2 separate regions of the Homo sapiens genome follow, and region 2 is linked to region 1. Evidence: promoter capture Hi-C in 16 types of primary human blood cells and fetal thymus (Javierre and others, 2016). All regions are on one chromosome and are shown on one strand. The core of a region is centred on a gene start or on the middle of the fragment in contact, and the rest is flanking DNA. Distances in the headings are between cores, read along the strand shown.

Region 1 (4,265 bases), core at 1,100-3,599:
CTCTCCCAGTTGTTGCTGAATTCACTGCTACCCCCAACCCCCATCCTGGACTCATTACTGCAAAGTCTTCTCAACTGATTCCCCAACTCAAGATGTAATTAGCTTCTCAGGCTAAGAGCAATTGGTAAAACATCTCACACATTTTTGTCCTTGTTGTTTGTGGGCATTTTTGTATGTTTATTGTTTTTATTTTTGTTTTTGTTTTTTGAGGCAGTTTCTCACTCTGTCTCAAAGACTAAAGGGCAGTGGCTTGATAATAGCTTACTGCAACCCCGAACCCCTGGACTCAAGCAATCTTCTGGCCTCACTCCCTCACCCCTAACCCCTTAGCTAAGACTACAAGTGCATGCCACCATGCTTGGCTAATTTTTAAATTTTTTGAAGAGGTGGGGTCTCGCTATATTGCCCAGGCTGACTCAGTTTCTTGAGAATCTTGAAAACAAACAAACAAAACACATGCTCAAGAACCAAAGTAAAAAAAAAAAGTTTTCAAATAGTTTGAGTAAGAAATGTCCTCAGATTAAACCACATAAAGCAGTTATGGTAGCATTAACAACAATCTATTATAGATCCATAAACATTCAATGATTTTAATATATTCTGAAAACTAGCTAAAGCATCATTCAAAATGTCTTCATTTTAAACTAAAATGTCAATAGGCATTTAACCGAAAAAAAATTTAAAGCTTGACATACTAAGCTTTCCTTCAAAAGTTTACATTTTTTTATATTTCACTGGAACAAAGTTACTTTGCATATACATCACACTTTTACTCTCAGAGGAGTTTCTCCTGCAGACTTCTTTAAAAAACTATATACATATATACATACATATACGTATATATTAAATTATCCTCAGCCTCAAATACTGATTTTGCAGTCTGTGATTCATAGCAGAAGAGGTGTCCCATTTTTCTATATTGACACACGATAATTTGACATTTGTTTTTTACTGACCAATTTCTAGCTAGATATTTCATCTATAAACTGCACTTAGCCAGCCTTATGCTGAACTTTGTAAGGGTTTTGTAATAATAAACTGTTCTTGACTGAAACACAAGCCTTTCATAATTACATGCCACAGTGCAATTCTTATGCAACGAGCTTGTGTTTTTCCAAATTTAGGACCAAGCATGTAGTTTTATCAGTTAGCTGGGATTTGGTCTTGTTTTCCCTTGATTCTGTAAGTGGTAGTTCTAACTTTGAAATGGGTCATCTAACTTATAACTATTTTCTTCATTTCTTTTTAAAAGGGAGAAATAGCATGCAAATTTCTGGCATGTTGATAGAAAGTTCAGCATTTTTTCCCTGACATGAAATATTTCATTTAGAATGCGTATGTTTCCTCTACGTATAAGGTTTCCTAGAGTCAGATATGATAAAAACAAACTCTGAGATGTATATACCTATGTTCCTACAAGTGTAAAACCTGAATGATGTCTCTGGAAATGGAGCCTCGGAGTGACCAGGAACACAAATACTTATATGTCACAGAAATAGAGGGGCACATACTTTGAAATATTTCAATGGAAATCAAAAATTGTAGTTTACTGGATTGAAATTAGTATCCTCTACTTAAACATTTTTGACACAAACTCAATGCTGATTCAGATCTGTAATCCATGTAGCTCATAATAACTTACTTGGTAGAAGTATTTCAGATTAATGAATTGTACAATTGTACAAATTAATAAATTGTACAATTGTTCAACTATACAATTAATTGTACAATTTGTATAGTTGAAAAAATCTATAAATTAATTTATAGATAAATTATCAAAGAAGACAACATTTTAAATAGTTATTCCCAATATTTTTTCTTCCATAATTAAAATAAAAGTAAGTATCTCAGCAATTGCTTGTTCTTAAAATTTCACTGCTATCTCAGCAGTCATGTAAGTTATTCTGGCTATTTAATTTTTCACTTTTGTTTGCATACTGTAACAGTTGGTAGGATAATTAATTTTGATTGTACATTTCCATTGAACTTTTGATGAAATTGTTTCACTCTTTTTATTAGAATAAAATTATTAGGAAAGTCTTCTAAAGAGAGGTTTTCTGTTTGTTTTTCCTTTGAGGAAGGTAGAGAGATGGGAAACGAAGACACCAAATATAAAGTCATTCCTCTATCTCTCATTTTAAAACCTGTTTTAAAGGTTGTAGCTAGTCAGGAAAACTGAAAAATCAACTGGTATTCCTAACTAAAGCAGGGCTTTGAAACTCTGCTACTAGCGACAGGGTTGGGAAAATTCCGGTTGCTCTTCTTGTCTGTGATATACGGTAGAAGGGTTGGTCCTGGTTTGGTCCACCTGCCAGCGGAGTTTAAAGTTTCCGAGGCTCAGAGGAACACAATGACTTGGATCAAACAGCCTAAATGGGAAGAAGGACATTTTTGCTGCATCAAGGAAGCCGTTAAACTCCTGCTAAGCTAACTAGCTCTTTTTTATGGGTCCATGCACACGACCGAACTCCTCTTTCACTGACCAGAGATTATTTCTGACAACCCAGGATATCCCGAAAGCTTGGAGGCATATGGCTGGAAAATGAAACGACCCAGGACATCGTTTCTGGCTGCATCATTATTTTGTGTCGCGTAGTACCAGATGGGCAGTCAGTGAGCGGCGCAGGGATGTGAACGGACGGTTTTATAATGTGAAAATTTTCCCTTGGTAAAGCTAAAACAGATTTAATTTCCCTCTCTTTTCTTTCACTACTTCCCCCTCTTTATTCCCCCTCTGTCTGCAATATCAGTGAACTCAACTTTGCAGTGAGGTGGCCAAAAAGAGAGAGAATGAGGAGATCTTGATCATCTTAGTGTCGGAGGAGTCGCAGCGGACTGGGAACTGCAGCTGCGACCCCCCGCGTCCTGTGCGGATTTCAGGGCTGATACCGCATAGGCGGTTATGGAAAGGACGGTACACCGGAGCGGCGGAGGATAGAGACCCTGGCCCCCGGAGAGGTCTGCTGATTTCGCAGCAGCCTTCGAAGCCGTGGCTGCCTTTCATCTGCTGCGTTTTATTACTATTATCGCCGTTCCGGAAAAGTCATGGAAGACAGCCCGCTGCCAGACCTCAGAGACATCGAGCTGAAGCTGGGGCGCAAAGTACCCGAGAGTCTAGTGCGCTCTCTCCGTGGGGAGGAGCCGGTTCCCAGGGAAAGGGACAGGGACCCCTGCGGGGGGAGCGGTGGTGGTGGCGGCGGCGGCGGCGGCTGCAGTAGCAGCAGCAGCTACTGCAGCTTCCCTCCCTCCTTGTCGTCCTCCTCTTCGTCCTCCCCAACCTCTGGCTCCCCACGAGGTAGCCACTCTAGCGCCCTGGAGAGGCTAGAAACCAAGCTTCACCTCCTCAGGCAAGAGATGGTGAGTGTGGTGCGCCAGCCGCGGGGGCTGGGACCTGGGCTGGGCCAAAAGATGGGGCGATCTGAGAATGGGGCTGGGAGAGAGGACGGCAGGGGCTGCAGAGCGGAGCGCTGGGCGCGTGGGAAATGCTGGGTGGAGGAATGAGCAGGGGGCGCTCATCCGGAGGCAGCTGCTGCGAGGCTTGTTTACCGCGGACTTTGCTCGGTCACGGTTTGCAAAGACAGCACAGTCGGCTGGCTCCACTCTGTGTACTTTCGGACAACGCGACTCACTGCGCCGGGCTCTATTTAGCTGCCAGCCCGTAGCCTCTTAGGCACCAGCCCGTTGAGAGTTTGCAGTTATTGCACCCATCTAAGGCCTGCTGTGCGCTGTTAACACTTCGGGTAGGTTCAAAAGGTGGCTCAGTCCAATGCACTTACTGCAAAAATACTTCCTGGTTTGCCGGGAGGTGGCGTGGCAGGGTCCTTGCAGCCTTTCCTCCTAGCTCACCCTTCCACCAGTACCGCTCCGCCCTCCTGCCCTCCCTTCTTGGTGCAGCAGCCGCAGCTGTTCCAAGGCCACTGTCGAGCAGATTCTCCACAGCTGGTTCTGAAAACAATGGCCTACTCGTCCTTGATGTACTTATGAATAGCTTGTTTCACTATTTTGATCCCAGGGAGCAGGTGATCCCCAGGCCCAGGGATCTGCTAAGGACCATCTCCCACCCTTCTCCCTCAAGTCTCAATCTGCAGTTGTTTTCCCTGCTGTTTGCAAACGTTTGCCTGAGCATAGGACAATGAGATAAGTACAAGGTCTAGGAATACTCATTCTGGAAGTATTTAGACTAAGACACTATTTACTTGCCATGAGCTCTTGGGCACGTCACTTCACTTCTGTAGACCTCTGTGAATTTGATGAGCTGGTTAGAG
Region 2 (4,265 bases), core at 717-3,216, 240 kb after region 1:
AATTAAACCTATATAAGAGTAAAAATATCAGAAGGGGAAAAAATTCACTAAAATAAAAATATTGTATATAAGATACATAGATAAAATAATAACACCGAAAAAGGAGGTACAAAGAGAAAAAGCTTTAAATTAGATCAAAGAGTTTTCTAAAAGGAAATGTCATCACTTTAGAAAAGAATGTCTTCTTATTCCACTTGCTTTCAAGTTTCCTTTTAGTCATGGAATTCTTTATTCAAGGGAAGTCTTAAGCAGAACTAAAAACAAATAACTGTGGTTGAAGCCAGGATGAGGGGCCAACAACCACATTAGCTTACCACTCTCCACCCCATCCTACTATACATACACAGAAACATCTACCATGAGGTCCATAGAATACTTTTGAAAGACCCTAAGTTGCACTCACTGGGTTCTTTGTGTTAATGTGGGAGAATTTGTTTAGGGTGGATAGAATTGTGAATCATCAGTATGCATATTTTTAGCTTAACTAGATGTATTAGTTTCCTAGGTCTACCACAACAAAATATCTCAAACTTGGGGACCTAATGGAAAAGAAATGTATTGTCCCATTTTGGGGGAGGATAGAGATCCAAAATCAACGTGTTGGCAGAGTCATTCCTCCTGCAAACACTCTAGTAGGGAGGAAGGATGCTGTCTTGCCTCTTCCCACTTCTGGTAACCACAGACATTCCTTGCTTGAGGAAGCATAACTCCAATCTCCACCTCCTTCTTCACATAGCATTCTCCCTGGGTCTTTGTATCTGTACACAGCCATCTTCTTATGTGGACATCAGTCCTATTGGATTAGGGGCCCACCCTAAACTGGTATGGCATCATATTAACTAATTGTATCTGCAATGACTGTATTTCCAAATAAGGTCACATTATGAGGTACTGGAGATAAGGATTTCAACATGCCTTTTCTGGGGTGAACATAGTTCAACCCATAACACTAAATAATTCCAACTTTTTCTTTCACTTTGTTGTGCCAATATTCACTCCTAATAACAATGTATTAGAGTTTGGTTGTTTTGGGGTGCTAAGCCTTATTAGATTTTATCATTATGTCTAACTTCATGGCTACAAAATGATACTTATCTGTTGCATTCTTCTAATTACTAGTGAAATTAAACATTGTTTTATATGTATAATGAGAATTCTAGTTTCTTCATTTGTAGATTACTTATTCATGTTTTTTGTCAATTTTTCTATTGGCTTGTTTGTAATTTTTCACGGATTTGGAGAAAGTGTTTATAGCTTCCAGATACTAATGGTGGCTACTTAAATGTCTGCTACATTTTACATATTTAACAATTAAAACTTAATTTTTAATACAACTCACTCTTTTAACCTAAAAAGATAGAAATGACAAGTTGGGGATGGAGGGGAAATACAGAGCATTTGTCAACTATGGAGGGAGTGTTGAAATTGTATTGTTTTACAAAATCCAAGATGTTCCATCATACATGCATGTACAAACACACACAGGCACACCCACACACGTACACAGAGATGTACAAACATTCATAAACTGCTGATTATTCTTACTCAAAGGTGAAATTGCTGTTTCCAGGCAAGTAGCAAAGCTTCACGTGATGCCAGGCCCCTTAGCAGAGAACTCAGAGGGATTTTCCATGACTTAGAATAAGATCAAGACAAGCTTCAATAACTAGTTTCAAACAATTCCCTCTATTCATCATATAAAACATTATTGCAGAACTAACGAAATAATCTGAGTGTCAACGTGCTGGGAAATAACATAAGATTGAAGGAAAGAAGGAATAAAGTAAGGAACTACATGGAGGAAGCCACCAATAGGAAATCTAAAATTTTATGATGGATAAAAACCAGCTTACCTTTAGAGTTTATTCTATTTGTAAACATCCAGGATTATGACTGGAAGAGGGAATGCAAATATCTAAGAATAAAAAGTGGTTGTTTTCCCTTTAAACTCAGGAGGATTTTATAGATAATCTCTTTTTAGAGTATAATTTTTTCATTCATAAAAGTAGTGTGTATATATGTTCAAACCTAAAACAGAAAAAATATGCAGTCACACTAAACTCAAACGAATTTCTTTCTGGTTTGTTTTACATATAATTTTTGTGTCTGTTTCTTTTGGTTAACTGGTATGTTCCTTAGAATAACCTAGGTTATATTGCAGTAACAATTTAACTGTGATATCTAAGGGTCTTAATACAATGAAGTTACATTTATTGTTAACTCTGAGTGTCCAATACATTGTATTTTGCCCTACTCCACACAATCTCCAACTGATGGAAGCTTCACTATGGAAAATGTAGTTTCAGAACACCTTTTAGTGGAAGAGTGAGAATACTGGAAAATCTCACAGAGATGTTTCTGTTCACATTTCATGCACAAAAACTAGTCAAAGGCCACACACAACTGCAAGGGTGCTAGGAGGGGTAGTTTCCCCTAAGCCCCAGAAGAAAAGAGAACTGGATATTGGTAAGCATCATAGTGTCTACCAGAGCTAATGTGCTTTGTTTTCTTTTTGTTTTGGAGCAGTGGTGTTTTTTCTTGGTAATAGTTTCTGAGGAATTTTGACTTATATCTTTTTATCTTACCCAACCCAAATTTGTCTCAGAATTGCTGGGAATTTCCGTGTGCAATGCTATGTTGGCACTATTTAAGCTAAGCATATTACTTGTTAAATCCTTTCTGAAAAGGATCAGCTTAATATACTAGGAATTTAGCTGACAGATATGACCAGAAAGCAGCCCTGGAAGGTGGCAGGAAGGCAGCACTCCGTGCTCATAACTCTTTGTGAATTCGCCATTACAGAATTTTCTGTCCCAGCATTTCAACAAAACAGGAGTCCCTCAGCCTGAAGATTAGAAAGTAATGCTTCTTAACTTATTATTAATCTGAATTTGATTCCTCCTCCACAAATGTGGTCATTCATATTTGATTTTATTTTTCAGTAAATATATAGCCCGTTCTCCTTTCCTGTAAAGAAAACTTAAATAGCCATAAAAAATATTGAAATAATCCAAAAGTTAGATAGGGTAGGAAAAATCAGTTTCAGGTTTAATAATGTCAAATGTGCATTTTCACAACTTTAGGGGGAAAGGAAACTAAAATTTAAATCAAATTGGAAAGAAATGTGATTTTTTAATCTGTTCTATACATTTTGAGAATTTTTTAATGTGAAGGTTTGATAGACAGCCATACTTTTATCACTGGACATAGTGATCATTACTCATAGACCTGCCTAGCATCTTACAAAGGATATTTCCTTTCAATTTTGATCTCTGTTTTTTATACATACACTATACACTAGTTTCATTTGAGTAGGAGAGAAGTTATAATGTACTGATCATGCACTTATGGGTTTTGTCACTGAAATTTTAAAATAATCTTAGTTCAAATGAACTGTATTTGGCTTCAGGGCCCAGTATTAATGCCATCTATATCATAATGTCTTAGAATTCACTAGAAGTAATTGCATGTTTGTTCTTTTGTCATAGCTCTTTGTCAACTTACCCCTCTAATAAAGAATTACTTTTTTAGGTTAATTGAGTGCTGTTTTTCTAACCTCATTGATTCTAAACTCCTTGAGAACAGAACATATCTTTTATTTAATGCTGCCAAAAACTCTACATTAGCTTCCCATAGCTTTGTAGTAACAGATTACCACAAAGTTAGTGGCTTAAACCAACAGAAATTTAATCTCTCCAAGTTCTAATTTATTCTCTTCAAGTCCAGAAGTCTGAAATCATTGAGCCAAAATCAGTGTCATCAGCGTCAGACCTTCTCTGGAGTCTCTAGGAGAGAATCTGTCCCTGTGGCTTCTGGTGGCTGTCAGCTTCCTTGACTTGAAGGCACATCACTCCAGTCTCTGCCTCTATGGTCACATTGCTTCCTCCTTTTCTGAGTGTGTCTAATTTCCCTCTGCCTCTCTTTTATGAGGACACTTGTGATGGCATTTAGGGTTTACCTGGATAATCTCTTCATCTCAAAATCTTCATCAAATCTACAAAGAGCTTTTTTCCAAATAAGATTGTATGTACAGGTTCCAGGAATTAGAACATGGACCGATCTTTGGGATCTATTATCAGCCTACCACATATCCCAACTCTTGCCCAGCTTGGAGCACAGTCCTAAAGTACCCAGTAAACCTTTGTTGATTTGAAAAATAATATCTTGAGGGCAGTAATTTTCTGTCTGTCCAGTTGCGACATCTCTTATCTCTACTTTTCCCGGGTTATTTCTTCTTCCGTGGACTGACTTCCTTGCTCACCATC

Evidence for each region. Contacts are between HindIII fragments. The CHiCAGO score rates a contact against its expected background, and 5 or more counts as called.
Region 2: a contact is called between a fragment that was not itself captured here and the fragment with the promoter of LURAP1L in region 1, in 1 of 17 cell types (megakaryocytes). The highest score is 5.7, in megakaryocytes.

Annotation. Positions count from the first base shown.
Region 1 is chr9:12,772,671-12,776,935 of GRCh38, forward strand. It overlaps LURAP1L (leucine rich adaptor protein 1 like), which reads left to right and starts at 2,350. Exons shown (of 2, transcript NM_203403.2): 1 at 2,350-3,357. The coding sequence starts at 3,046. The region is part of intron 2 of LURAP1L-AS1 (LURAP1L antisense RNA 1); the gene reads right to left. The HindIII fragment of the contact is 1,821 bases long and covers 698-2,518 here.
Region 2 is chr9:13,013,896-13,018,160 of GRCh38, forward strand. No RefSeq gene overlaps it. Among named protein-coding and RNA genes, the nearest start is that of SNORD137, 43 kb to the left of the region's middle. The HindIII fragment of the contact is 623 bases long and covers 1,656-2,278 here.